Regions from separate parts of the Homo sapiens genome. Here region 1 is linked to region 2. Evidence: promoter capture Hi-C in 16 types of primary human blood cells and fetal thymus (Javierre and others, 2016). All regions are on one chromosome and are shown on one strand. The core of a region is centred on a gene start or on the middle of the fragment in contact, and the rest is flanking DNA. Distances in the headings are between cores, read along the strand shown.

The links. Contacts are between HindIII fragments. The CHiCAGO score rates a contact against its expected background, and 5 or more counts as called.
Region 1: a contact is called between a fragment that was not itself captured here and the fragment with the promoter of PLSCR5-AS1 in region 2, in 1 of 17 cell types (monocytes). The highest score is 5.8, in monocytes.

What each region holds. Positions count from the first base shown.
Region 1 is chr3:146,459,004-146,466,487 of GRCh38, reverse strand. It overlaps PLSCR2 (phospholipid scramblase 2), which reads left to right. Exons shown (of 8, transcript NM_001395437.1): 2 at 6,405-6,640. The coding sequence starts at 6,584. Among named protein-coding and RNA genes, the nearest start is that of PLSCR2, 6.8 kb to the left of the region's middle. The HindIII fragment of the contact is 6,066 bases long and covers 1-5,355 here.
Region 2 is chr3:146,586,694-146,594,311 of GRCh38, reverse strand. It overlaps PLSCR5-AS1 (PLSCR5 antisense RNA 1), which reads right to left and starts at 4,710. Exons shown (of 2, transcript NR_046698.1): 1 at 4,524-4,710; 2 at 3,987-4,249. PLSCR5 (phospholipid scramblase family member 5) reads left to right here. Exons shown (of 8, transcript NM_001085420.2): 4 at 172-392; 5 at 2,431-2,592; 6 at 4,498-4,659. The HindIII fragment of the contact is 1,724 bases long and covers 4,521-6,244 here.

The DNA.
Region 1 (7,484 bases), core at 1,073-3,572, 130 kb after region 2:
TTTAATATACAATTCTATAGGCCAGGTGTGGTGGTCCACACCTGTAATCCCAGCGCTTTGGGAGGCTGAGGTGGGCAGATAACGAGACTAGGAGTTTGACACCAGCCTGGCCAACATGGGAAAATCCCGTTTCTACTAAGAATACAAAAATTACCCAGGTGTGGGGGCATATGCCTGTAATCTCAGCTATGCTGGTGGCTGAGGCACGAGAATTGCTTGAACCTAGGAGGCAGAGGTTGCAGAGCTGAGATCGTGCCACTGGCCTCCAGCCTGGGCAACAGAGCAAGACTCTGTCTCAATAAAACCAAAAGACAAACAAACAAACAAAACTGTAAAAGCCTATCTTACATTGGTTCTAAGCATATGTGTTTTGTTTTCTTGAGCCTAGATGCTGAAGTGGATTTTTATAGTAAAACTCCCGGTTACAAGGTGCTTTGCATTAATAACTGGCCTCAGTCACCCTACTTCAATCTCATACCTCACAGATATGGTGTGCTTTGTACTCAAAGGCTCACCATCTTCTTGCCCCACACATGTGTAAAAATGCATCTGTGCTTGCTCTGCTTTACTTTGACTGAAACCACAATTCAAGGGATGAAATGTTTGTCTTCTTAGATGGTAACCAAATCTTTTAAGTGCATAAAATTTACATATCATGTAACTGAATGATGTGAAAGCTATTTAATTTGTGAGTTACCTCAATAAATGTTGCCTTCTCCCTGGGCTATTCACAGTTCCCCTCTGGCATAGCATAATGTCTCATTCTTACTTATTGGTAGGAAGTTAGGCACCTAGAATTCTTGTGATTGTTTTCAGAATGGTAGAATTTTGCTAAAATAATTCAGAACCTATGTCTCTGCTTGGGGCTTGAGAAGAATATGAACTGTTTTATATTGTGATTTTTTTTTTTTTTTTGTGGAGGGTGAGTGTGGCGGGAGAGAGTTGTTCTTAGGCATAACTAGGTTTAGGTTATTAATCTGAATTTATTTGTTAATTGTCTATGTTAAAGGCATAGTAATTTTAGGATCTTCCAGAATTAAGTATGATTTCCCTGTGAGTTCCAGGTTTTACTTTAGTTATGTTTGAAAGCAGTAAAACAAAAAATTTTCAGGACCTTAAGAAATAGGTCAAAAGGCTTTAGCTGTGTCAAAAGATAAATTACAACAAATTTAAAGATGTAATTAGCTTATATTAGGAATTCATGAATATGACAGCATCTTATCTAAAAATAGAGAGATGCTACATGCGGCATTGCAGAATAGTCAGTTTTTATAAGGTACCTTGAGCAGGAATGAGGAAATAGCATAATACAAAAAGTGGATTAGTTAACGGTAGATTAGTTCAGGTTACTCTCTTTATAAGGACTAAAGTAGTGGGAACTTCTTTATTATGCAGGCTAAAACTGGCCTGTTTGGAGTCTGGGCTTTCATTTCTCTCCTGATTTCTTGGAAGGTTAAATAAACAACTTAGTTTCAGTTTGGTAATGTGGAACTTTAGCATTAGTTACTCCATTTTGATTTGATCTGTTGAAGCCTAGTGCAGGAGGTCAAACCAAATGGATGTCCTCCTATACAGCTGTTAATATTTAACAACTGTAATATAAATTATGAAGTCAGAACTGGAAATCCTCTGTGCTATTTCTCCCTCTCCCTGAGTGCAGAAGTTTATAATTATCAAATAGTCCAGAGCAGCAATGAAGACATGATTTCTGATATAATTACTTTAAAAGAGATGTACTAATGTGTATATAGTATATGCTGCCTCAATTTACTCCAAATTTATCACTTAACAGAGAGTTAGAAAGAAGTGTGTAGTAATCAGATTGTAACTTGAAGTTCTGTGTTTGTTTTGGAGTAACTATAATTCAAATGGTATAATATATAATATGACTTTATTACAAACTTTTGCTTTGTTTTAGTACAGCATAAAAATATGATTTTCTCTTTCTCTGAAGTTATTTCTAGAATTTACTTTTTAGTAAGAGTGGTGGAAGCAATGATTTAAAGTTATCATGTTAGATTAACTAGCTAATTTAGTCAGGACACAGCCCAATCATGTCCTAAACTGAGTCATGTTATTTCTTGGAATAGACTCATCATATTAGTCAGAATTCTCTAAAGAAACAGAGCAGTAGGATGTAGACATATATATATGAAGAGATGTATTATAAGAAATTGGCTCATGCAATTTTGTATGCTGAAAAGTCCCACCACATTAGAAGTCTGTAAACTGGAGACCAGGAAAGCTAGTGGTCTACCCTAGTTAGTCTAGTTACCCTAGTTAGTCTACCCTAGTTACACATGTTTACTAGCTTATTGTTCACCTTATAGATTAACTGCAGAAAAATGTAAGTTTTAATATTTCTACTCTTCTGACTTGATGAGGTCCACAGCATTGATTTCTGACCAGTTAATGCAAACTGGATTCCGATTGTTCTAAGAAAATCCGGGAAGTTAAATCAGTAACACAAATACATCTTTTGATTTATTTCAGGGCCAAATAAACCCACTTGGAATTATTCAACCTTTGCTGAACTTCTTGAGTAGATGTAACTAAGAGGTGACTATAATTGGAGAATTCTTAAGAGTTTCACTATATTATGAAAATGTGTGCTTAAAGTTGGTAATCATAAAAAATAATTTTGAAATGGCAGGTAAGGAGGTGGTTTCTTCTTGAGAATTCTAGATTTTAGTTGAGGATGTGGAGGGATCAGTTGACTTATTTACCACTTAGGATTGCACAGTAGGAGGAGTTGGTAAAAGGGAAGCCAACACTGGAGTGGGCCTGAGAAGTGGGAGGGCAGTTTGTATTAGCGTGCATGGGTCCAAGATAAAAATTTTGGGTAATGGAGTTTTTGCCCGATGTGTTCATTGTAATTAACAGTCATGAAAAGCACTGGGATCTACAGTAGATGGAGAAAACAGTGACTGGATAGCAGTGGGAAAGACTAGGATGGGGTCAAGGCATCAGAAGGCAGAATTACTGAGTAGAATATTTGCTGTCATTTATGTTTCTGTAGAAATACCAAGTATAGGCAGGGCGCGGTGGCTCACGCCTGTAATCCCAGCACTTTGGGAGGCCGACGCGGGCAGATCACGAGGTCAGGAGATCAAGAACATCCTGGCTAACATGGACAAAAAAAATTATTCCGGGCGTGGTGGCGGGTGCCTGTAGTCCCAGCTACTCCGGAGTCCGAGACAGGAGAATGGCGTGAATCTGGGAGGCGGAGCTTGCAGTGAGCCCAGATCTCGCCACTGCACTCCGACAGAGCGAGACTCCGTCTCAAAAAAGAAAAAAAAGAAATACCAAGTACAAAGTTTCACTTGGTGGTCAGGATGCTATGGCTGTGACAGCTCCTGAGAGTGGGTTCTCTGGTAAAAAATAAATAAATAAATACATCTCTTAATGAACAGAGTAGTGTCAGAACTTCTCAAATTTGCTGGTCAGGATTGGCATGACAGGGCCACAGGACCTGAAATTTTCCGAGATAATTGCAGTGGTGTGATCTGATAATTAACCTTTCTTGCTCTTTAGCTGAACCATTCCTGGAGCCCAAGCCCAGAGGCTTGGAAATAAACCACACACTTCATTTAGATTGTGCAGGTTGTGAAGGCTGAAGTTTTAGCTCAATTACCCTTTGGGGTCTTAGCTCGCAGCATTTCTTCATGGCTTTCCTCCTGATTAGACCTTCTTCCTAAAGGCTTTTGGAAAGTGTTCACCATCGGCCGAGCGCAGTGACTCACGACTATAATCCCAGCACTTTGGGAGGCCGCAGTGGGCAGATCACGAGGTCAGGAGTTCAAGACCAGCCTGGCCAACATGGTGAAACCCCGTCTCTACTAAAAAATACAAAAATTAGCTGGGTATGGTGGCGTGTGCCTGTAATCCCAGCTACTCGGGAGGCTGAGGCACGAGAATCGCTTGAACGCAGGAGGCAGAGGTTGCAGGGAGCCAAGATCATGCCACACTACACTCCAGCTTGGTGACAGAGGGAGACTCCATCTCCAAAAAAAAAAAAAGAAAGAAAAGAAAAGAAAAAGAAAAAAGAAAGTGTTCATCGTCGTGGGCTGACCAACAATTTCTAAATTCCTACCAAGGCCACATGCAGCGGTTTATGCCTGTAATCCCAAGACTTTGGGAGGGCGAGACAGGAGGATCGCTTGAGTCCAGGAGTTTGAGACCAGCCTGGGCAACATAATGAGACCTTGTCTCCATAGAAAATAATAATCAATTCTACTGTGAAAACAGGAAGGGGAATGAGGTCAAGCCCAAAGGATTTAAATGGCCAGATAAGGCTCTACTAGATGAATAAAGAGAAATATCCCATGAATGTGACTGTATTGTTTTAGAATATCTTGTTCCAACAGTTGTATTGGACCTACAAATGTATAGACAGCATATTAATATCAGGTCTCTTTCAGAACTATTTCAATCCATGAACAATAAAAGTAAGTAATTTACTAAGTGTTTAATTTCCTCCCTATAATACTAAATGTGTTGTTGACTTGTTCTTTGTCATTTTTTTTTTTAGCTTATGAAAGGATATTATTTGTAGCTGTGTTTTCCCTTGTAAATTCCAGTACTGGGCACTCCTGAAAACTTCGCAAGATATATATGAGATCATGGAACTCACTCTTCTGCTTAAATTCCTCCAGTAATTATCAATGACACCTGGGATAAAATCCAAACTCCTTACTAAGGGTCTCCCTAGATGAACTTCTTCCTATTGCTTTGGTGACAACCATGCATACTCCTCCTTTCTTATGACTCTCCTCTCTCACGAACATGCTAAATTCCTTACAGAGTCAGCGTTTTTACATTTGCTTTTCCTTCCTCCTATAGCATTTCTCGGTAGATCGTCACGTAAAATTTTCCCCTTCTCATCTTTTCGATTTCAACATAAATTATATCCATCTAAAGTAACTTACTTATCCTCTGTCCTTTCTCCCATGTTTTCCCCATCATACCAATATGAAGTCTTTTATAAAAAATTATTTTATTTCTTCCAGAAGTTAACTGTAAGCTCATTGACAGCATATTGACTTTTTGATAGCTGTATCCCCTGATTCCACAACAGAGCCAATCACGAGTCATCTATATTCATTAATCGTAGGAGGAATAAATTATAAAAGCTATATTTACAGTGCATTAGTACTAGGTTAAATTGTTTGCTAACCCTTATTTTTTATTAGTATATGAGCCTGTCACCAGTGTTCCACTTAAATGTATTGCCTATTCTAAGTATTATATTTTATGTGGCATTAAGTATTTATTTAAAATATTGAGGAACATAGTCCCTTGAAATTATTTTTCATTCCTATGGAATCACTACACTGCGGACTATACAAATAAGCTTATGAAGCATCATTGCAATGTACATTTACATGTAATATAAAGATTATACTTATTAAATTTCTTCCTCTATTCTGCTACTTTAGAATTTTTCATCTGTTAAATATTTTGCTTTTCTTCCTCAAACTCTGTTGATTTTTTTACTTTTGTTTTGTTTAATTTTCTCAAATTATGTGTTCTAAAGATCTAAGAGTGACAAATTGTGAAATTTAATTTTGTAACCGCAATATCATAATTGATGTTTTAAGAACAATATCAAGGGAAACAGGAGAGGAACACGCTGTAGATTAAAACTCCTCGTAACCCATTGGCCCAGACAAGCATCTGAAAAGTACTAGGAGGGACGACATGATTTTACATCTATATTAGGGTTTCTCAACACTGTAGTATTTTGGGGTGGATAATTATTTGTTTTCAGGAGGATGTTCTGGGCATTTTAGGATGTTTAGCGGCATCCCTGGCTTCTATCAACCAGCTGACAATATCAGTCTCTCCTCCAGTTGCGACAACTAAAAATGGATCCAAACCTTGACAGATACCCCTTCAGGGGTCAACCCCATCTCCCCATTGACTTCTATACATATAGGATATGTCATTTGTTATAATTCCACAATTAAAATTTTTCACAGGGTGCCTTTGGCTCTGGGAATGCTGACACATAGCCATTATTTTTGGCTTTTTTTTTTTTTTTTCCAATTTCATCTCTCTTTTCCATGAAGGCATGCCACAATCTTCATATAGATCACTTTAGATCATGGTGGGTTTACTTTCACTTTCACAGGTATAAAAGCATATTTTCTATCTGAGTTTTACATAGTAAAAGTAAAGCTCTAGGCCGACTCTATTCACAGTGAACCACCCTCAAAATAGAAGTGAATGTGAAACCACAGATATTTCATTAAAACATATCTGAAGATAAAAACATACCTCAAGCTTCACAGATATAGGACTTCTGAGCTGAGAGGTCAGTTTGTAGATAACTGGGGTTATTCTAAAAAGGATTGATGACTTTTCTGGGCAGCTACAAATTATTTTACTTGCTCCTATTTCAGGACCTCCCGGACATATTGTCTACCCTAAGCACCAGGCTGGACACACTGGGAAACAGGCTGACCACCTGGGCTCCCAGGCCTTCTACCCAGGACGTCAGCATGACTACCTAGTCCCACCTGCTGGCACAGCTGGCATTCCTGTTCAAAATCAGCCAGGTAGACCTGAAGGGGTACCATGGATGCCAGCACCACCACCACCATTAAACTGTCCGCCAGGATTGGAATACTTAAGTCAGGTAATTTCAAATACGTAAAATACTCAGAAAAAAAAAAAAACTCTCTTTCTGGTTTATGAACCATAGTAATTATGGTTAAGTGATACTTATTTATTTACTGCTTATTAATTAATTAAAGTCAGAAATGGTAAACAGCACATTCTGTTAACAAATCACTAGTTCTTTTGGGTTCGATTCATTGTTAAATCAAAATATGAATGTCACAGGTGATTGTTTTCTATGATCTTTTATATAATGTGATAATAGTCCAAAGTAAACATTTATTAGGCACTATTTTCTAGGTTTTGTTCTAAGCATAATACATGTATTACCTCACTTAATCTTTACAGAATCCCTATGATGTATAAGCGTTGTAATCATCACTACTCTACACAAGAGGAAACTGAGGTCCAGAGCAGTTATATAAATTACCAAGGATTAAAAACCTAATGAACTGGGGGTACACTGTTCATCACCACCCTGATTCTGGATTCTGCGCTTTTTAATTCCAATACTGAATAATTTTCTTGACACTTAAAAGACATGTAAAGTTTAGAGTTGAGTTTTAGTAAGCAGTACCAAAAATGACTTAATATTTTTGTGTGGGATTTGACTCATTTTTTCTTACAATTAGTAAAATTACATTTTTATGATGCTTTTTTCCTTTGGAAGACCCAATTTTACAAATGTCGCCAATAAGGAAAAAAAATGTCCTGGATTTTGCTGTACTACATGATAGTTTACCTCAGCAAAGTGAGGTTTAATGTTTGTTTTGTCTTAGAGATCAGATTGGTAAAATAGGAATATAAAGTTTTATATCTCCAATCTATAAACAAATATTTCTATGATAGTCAATGAGTTTTCA
Region 2 (7,618 bases), core at 3,461-5,960:
CATGGCTAAGTCCTAAAAATTTAGAGCATAGAAATAAATTTGTGTGAAGAAGATACCATATATTTAATAATTGATCAGACACTGTATTCTTTTAATAACATCTCCCCTTTATTTAAAGTTATCAATACTAAGGAAAAAAATGTTTTTATAATTTTTTTTTTGTTCCATTAGTGATACTTGGTACTGAGACCTCCAACAAATATGAGATTAAAAACAGCTTGGGACAAAGAATTTACTTTGCAGTGGAGGAAAGCATCTGCTTCAATCGTACTTTCTGTTCCACTCTGCGATCTTGCACCCTGAGGATCACAGATAACTCAGGTCGAGAGGTCATTACAGTGAACAGGCCCTTGAGATGTAACAGCTGCTGGTGCCCTTGCTACCTACAAGAGGTTAGTTACTGGCTCTGGTTGTCCTTTTTGATTTTTAAGATTAGCATTTGTTTCTTTAAAAGGAATTCATCTGGAGCAATGAGGCAATTAACCTGCCAGTTGTTTTAATTATTAATAGTATGTTGCTCCTTTAGGATCAGATCAGCTTGAGGATTTGGTAATTCACTAAACTTTTTTCTTTCCAACCAAAAACTATGGTGGCTTTCATGATATAAACTGTTGAAGACAGCTCATGCATCATGTAAATGAGATAGACCTCTGGAATCTCTATAGTAGTCATGTAATTGTAATGTCTACAGGTTCCACCATTGGGCATATACACCCTTTGTCTTCTCCAACTGGAGCAAAGTCCAGGAAATGCTAAGTGATATTAAACTCCTCTAAGGTATCCTCTTGGATAGGTATTATTATTTAGTATGGAATCTCACAATGCATTTACCCATTTATGACAAAGCCCAAGGTTTGGCAAGACAATGTTATTGTTCTACAGGGAATAATTCAATTATTTTATTTTAATATATAATAGATTTACGTTATTATTTAGTACACCTGTAATAATAACTTTCATTGACTTATGCAGTTAAATTGACACAGAACTTTTACTTACTTTACTGGCTTTGATACCATGATATTCTACTCATGAGCAAGAACAGAATCATGAAATCTCTAGGAGCTAGAAATAATTACTCTCTACATTTGGCAGTCAAGGAAGGAGAGTGGAGGTGACTACCTATGACTATACATTCAAGAAATCAGGAAATATTATAGATGGGACTTGAGCCAGGTGTCCTAATTTAAGCCCAACCTTCTCTGTTAGAACCTGTGGATAAGTACTGGCCTTAGGGTGATGGGAAAATATTAATATGAAAGATGGTTATTTAGGGAAGTTTCTAATAACATATATCAAAGCTAATTCTCCAACTATTTTTAGGTAAGCATCTGACTAAGTGATAAAATGATTGAAGTGCTCGTGCATGGAGCCCAAGAATTTCCATCCGTCTACTGAGGATATTTAATATTAATATGCCCCAAGAGAGTGTAGTCATTATGATCACAGAAATATGCTCATTTTAAAATTTTTGATAATTAACTTTTTCTTTAATGGTAGTCCAGGGTCATAAATTAAACATAATATATTACTTGATAACTATTAGTAACTTTTAAAAAAATTTGATCAATAGCAAATTAATAACTTTAAAAGTGATCCCAGAGCAAATCTATATTAATTCTAAGCAGTCTAGTTGAAATCACTTTTATCTATCCAAGAACATTATAGACATATGCATAAGACTATGAACTTCATAAGAAAAGTCAAAATGAGATCAGATGATGGCGATGTCTTGGTTTAAAAGCAAACATTTAAAAAATTTGTACCCACCCCCAATTTATTTTACAAAATATTTGATTGGGTTACATAAATATGTAAAGGTAATGGAGTCAAATGCTAAAGTAATGCCGGATAATGCAAAAATCCAACTACTAGTCTCGAACACTTTGGAAGCCACAAACCAGCAATCAAACTGGTGTTTAATGACTATAACTCTGCAAGAAGCATTTGTTTTTAATTAAATATAGATAATCTTGGAGCTTATAATCTTAGAGAAAAAATATGAATACTCAATAATTGATAAAGGAGACTTAAAATAGATGTGTGTTGTGGCTACAATTAAAAGGAGTAGATATGAGTAACCACATAGGAACAGCTTCAGTGGTTGACCAATGGTTGTACTTGGGATAAAATGGCAAAGAAGCCACTGTCCTAGGGTCAGAAGATAGTCGTGGGGTAGATTCTCTTTAGGGAAATAAGACATAGACTTTTAGTGCACAGTGCTAAACGTATGTTTATACAGTGAATTTCTTTGTTTTCTGTAAAATATTTTATAAAATCTGTATCCTTAGAAGCAGGTATTTAGAATGATTTGTAGAATATCAAAATAATTTTATAACAGTATATTGTTTACAGGTAAATTGACATTATAGTAAAATTAAAATATGATAACCTAAGAAAATCTTATTTTATCATTATCTCTTCTTACAGTTAGAAATCCAAGCCCCTCCTGGTACTATAGTTGGTTACGTTACGCAGAAGTGGGACCCCTTTCTGCCTAAATTCACAATCCAAAATGCAAACAAAGAAGATATTTTGAAAATTGTTGGTCCTTGTGTGACATGTGGCTGTTTTGGCGATGTGGATTTTGAGGTACAATTGACAAAATGAAAGAAGTTTTCATTTAGGTCCTGATTTTTTTTTGCAACATAATTCAATTTTTTTATGTTCAAATTAATTTCATTTAAAATAAGTTCAGAAAATGACATATTTGTAATATAATGTAATCAGCCCATATTGTACATGCTAAGAATAGGAATATGTAAATCCAGAGATATAAAGTCCAAGGATTTTTTAAAAATAATATTACAAAATTTATCACCTTGGCCATCATATCTGTCATAGACCAGTGTAAGTATTATCCAAAGTAATATTAATAAATTTTACTATAATAAAAGCATGTTTAGCTAAATATAATTCTATGTGTTCTATGGACAAAGCTACTATATCTCTTTGATTAGAATAGTAAATGTGTTGCTATTTTAATGTGTGCAAGACTTTGAACATCAAAAATTTTTGGACACATAGCTTTGCCTTTTTAAGATAACCAATATTTCCTGATTTTGAAAATTAGCACTTCATTCTTGTTTCAGTATGTTTTATTTATGTAGAATCACAGGACACATGGCAATAAAGCCAATATATACAGTTTAGAATCACCTAAATTATGTATCTTCTTTCCTATGGGCCTTGAGATCACATATCCCAGTTTAGATCTCATTTCAGCAGCACGTTACATTAAAACAGCATTAACTCAAAAGCTGTGTTTCTAAGACTTGCTAAGTTAGTTTTGTAAAAAAAACAAAAAAAAAAAACAAAAAAAAACCTTATTCTCGTATTTGTATAAATTGAATATTTAAAAAATAGAAAGTTGTAAATTTGATCTGTAGCAATATAAACTATCTTAACAGGTTGTCCTGGACATACAACTTAGGTAGAGGAGACAGCCTAATTGAAAGTGTATATTTATTTTTCATCCATTCATACATAAATATCTCAGCAAGGGCATTTAGTTCTCAGGACTTCAGGAAACACTATGCACGTAGAATACAATGCAAATTTTGCAAACTGAGCTGTTCCAACTTCACCCTATCCCCAAAGGATTTGGCATGACTTTCCTACGAGTAATATGATTGAGGAGGACTTTAAACATAAGAGTTTTAGCATTCATGCTATAGAAATGTCCTAAGTAACCCTCTCTATTCTCTATCTTTTACTACCCTGAAAAAAGTGATAGTTTCTCTTGAATTACTTTCAGCATCAGGATGGGAAGCAGAATAAACAAACAAATAGCTGATAAAGTTGATTTGTGAACTCCTTCTAGCTGAGAAGGACTGATTGATGTCTAGTTGGTCTTAACTTCCTATATGGTACATTAACCAGGAGGATTTTTTTAATGTAAAAATAGGATTTAGGATTTGTTAGAAAGTATTGACCTAATAAATGTCTGAGTATAATATAAAAATGTGATTTAACAATGGCCAATAATATTTAAATGTTTTAATAATTATAAAATTTTAGCAACTGAAATTTGAAAGTTTACAAATTATGCCTAGAAATTAATTTAATTCCTTCTGAAATATTTTTTCAAACATATCTTCTTTTACATTTTTAAGATGGAGAATTCAGGTTTAAAATCTGGACCTCAAGTAAAGAAATCGCCTTCATGCTTAGATGATACAATTGAACTATGTACCTGCTGCCATCTTGTGGTGGCTGAGCCTTAATTATTTATCCTGATATTCTCCATCTGCATACAAAAAAGAAAAAGAATTATGATGGACTAGAAAACTGTCAAAAAAGCAAAGTTTCTAAAAAGTAAACTGAAAAGCTAAATTTACAAACCTATGCTTATATGATGGAATGAATAACATGGAATTGTCATTTTGAAGATGACAAATAAAATAATTCAAATCTCTCATGAAGTAAACACCCTCAGAAGTATAAAACCAACTTTTTTCACTGTCAAATTTAATACTCCTTATTTTCTTTCTAAAGGTGAAAACCATTAATGAAAAGCTTACAATTGGGAAGATTTCAAAGTACTGGTCAGGATTTGTAAATGATGTCTTCACAAATGCTGACAATTTCGGAATTCATGTTCCTGCAGATCTAGATGTAACAGTCAAAGCAGCAATGATCGGTGCCTGTTTTCTCTTTGTAAGTATGGGCTTTGAGAGCATGAGTGATTTGTTATTCTCCCTCTTGCTTGTTAATTACAATATAGCCTATCCCATTTACACAGTTTTTACCCCCAAAGAGTATATTTTATTCATAGAAGGATAGCTTAGGACCAATGTTCTTCAAAAATTAGAATTTAGAACCCTGCATTTCTGTTAGGCAGCCCCTCTTCAGTGATCTCATATCCCCTTTCTCAAAGATTGAAGTGTTATCACATCCTATTCATCATTTCTTTAAAACCTAGTTTCCCCTTGCTTTTACGTTCAATTTAGATTTTTGGCTTATTTTCACTTGAACTAAAAAATATGCAAACATAAATATCACATGATTTATCCTGGATAAAGTTCCAGACTGGTTCATTGCATAATAGTGAGCTAGATGATATTAAGAATGTTGCCTTCTCAGTGTGAACATAGACACATGAAATGATTTGATGAGTTAATAGGTACCAGTTGCCATTATTTCTAAGATACTATGTTCTTGTTATTACTTTCCAACTTACAATTATATTGAAAACCTTTTCTTCTTTGGTATATGGAGATTGGTGATAGAAGAACAGAAGTCAAATAATACCTGTATCAAAATGCTTGACCTATATCCTGTTCTTAGTTTTCCCTCTAATATTTACCTAATTTCCTACCATTTTCAATGCAGCCATAAAAACTTATGGAGTTTTTATTTGTTGATATATAAACACATGTATTTTCTATAAATACATGAAAAAGATGTGTATACACAGGCACACACATAAGTGATTAAAACAAACAGCATAAGAGTTGAGAGTAGGTTGCAGACATGATGCCTTTTCCCCTAATTATATTAGTGTGCATTTCCTAAAAACAAGGAATTTTTTTACACATCACAGTACTATTGTCAAAGTCAGGCACTAAACACTGATTCAATGCTATTATCTAATCTACAGACTTTATTCGGTTTGCACTGATTTGCATAATGATGTCCTTTCTGACAATAGAAAATCCAAGATCATGAAGTATGTCCATTTTGTCACATCTCATTTGTTTCTTTTCACCTGGAACTGTTCCTAAGGGGTGTGTGTGTGTGTATATGTGTGTGCATGAACATGTGCACATGCATGTGCATTTCCCTGAGTCTCATGACATTGGCATTTTTGTTTTTGTTTTATTTTTTGTTCTATTTTTTGAGATAGAGTCTCACTCTGTCACCCAGGCTGGAGTGCAGTGGCGCAATCTTGGCTCACCACAACCTCTGCCTCCCAGGTTCAAGCGATTCTCCTGCCTCAGCCTCCCGAGTAGCTGGGATTACAGGCATGTGCCACCATACCCGGCTAATTTTTTTGTATTTTTAGTAGAGATGGGGTTTCACTGTGTTAGCCAGGATGGTCTCGATCTTCTGACCTCGTGATCCACCCGCTTTGGCCTCCCAAAGTGCTGGGATTATAGGTGTGAGCCACCTTGCCCAGCCGACATTGGCATTTTTTAAGTGCATAAGCCAATTATTTTGTAAACTGTGGCCTAATTTCAGTTTGTGTCATGGTTAGATTCAGGTTATGCACTTTTGGTAATCATGAAATTTTTATAAAGCTTAAATTCCTTCTCATGTTTTATTGTTTTCTGGGGTTTCAGAATGCTAAATCTGATTGTTTACATTAATGCCCTATTTACTGAGTCTCTTCTAATGATATTTGGAAAATATATGAACTAAAAATTATTCCCTGATGACTTCACTGAAACTCAGAATTTAATACATAGATATATATGTATATATATATGCATATATACATATACATATACATATACAAGTATGTATATTAGGATTATTTCTCCAGGATTTCAGAGGAATTATTTTAACTTACCAGTCTCCTATTATTGGTAGAAGATGGAAGTAATATCTATAGAGTGCTAGGTTTTTAAACTTACTAAGTTGTCACTTACTCTCAACTCCCATTTTCATCTGCAAATCTAACCAGCTTAGTCCACCTTGCCTGTTGCCTAATGTCATCTCTTCCCTATTCTCCTCTATCCACTGGACAGTGCTTTTAACTTGTCACCCTTCCTTTGCTTACTGTTCCCATCTTTGATCATTCTGACTTCAACACCAACCCCTCCACACACACACCCTTTCCCCAAGATCTTCATTAGGCCTTTCTGATTAAGCCCCACACTTAACGTTAATATTTAGAAATAGATCCTTTTTAATCTGCCCTACTCACCTATTTTACATAACAAGCTGATAGTTAAAATGTACTGCCAAAATTGGAACTACAGTTCTCTGTATTTTAAACCTTATCAGTTTTTCTTATTGTTTCAGAAACCCTCTAAACATATGTTCTTCTTGAAAAAGCATGTATTTCTTAGTCCATATGCTTTGAGAGATTGATGAGATGTAGGTTCCGTAAAGGTTGATCTAGGTCATACTCAAAGTGTGGTGCAAAGTGCAAGCATCTGCACCACCTAGAAGCTCGCTCAAAGCAAAGAATCTCAGATCCCACCCCAGATGCATCAGGACCTGCACTTGAACAAGATGCCCAGGTGCTTCCTCTATGCACTATAAATTTAAGAAGCACTGATCTAGATAATACCCTAATCATCTAAAAGGATAACTTTTAAACTCCAGCATTTAAGGGAGAAATGTTCACTGAGAATAGTTAATGACTCCCATTCATTTCTCTTTTTTTCTTTTTACCATCATATTGTAAAACATTTGCCTTTTTTTGCCAGCCAATATAGCTTATAAAACTATTTCTTACATGTATTACCAAGATAAATTACTTTCCTTATACATAATTTTATAGAAAGAATTATGTTTTTAATTTTTAATTGCTGTTTCTATTTTATTCAGGCGAAAGCTTTAGAAAGCTGCTGGTATAAGGTTATTTCCTCATTTAAATACAAATCTAAATCACAAATGAAATCTAATTTTTGGTCTCTTCTGGTTCCAAGATACGGCTTCACAACCC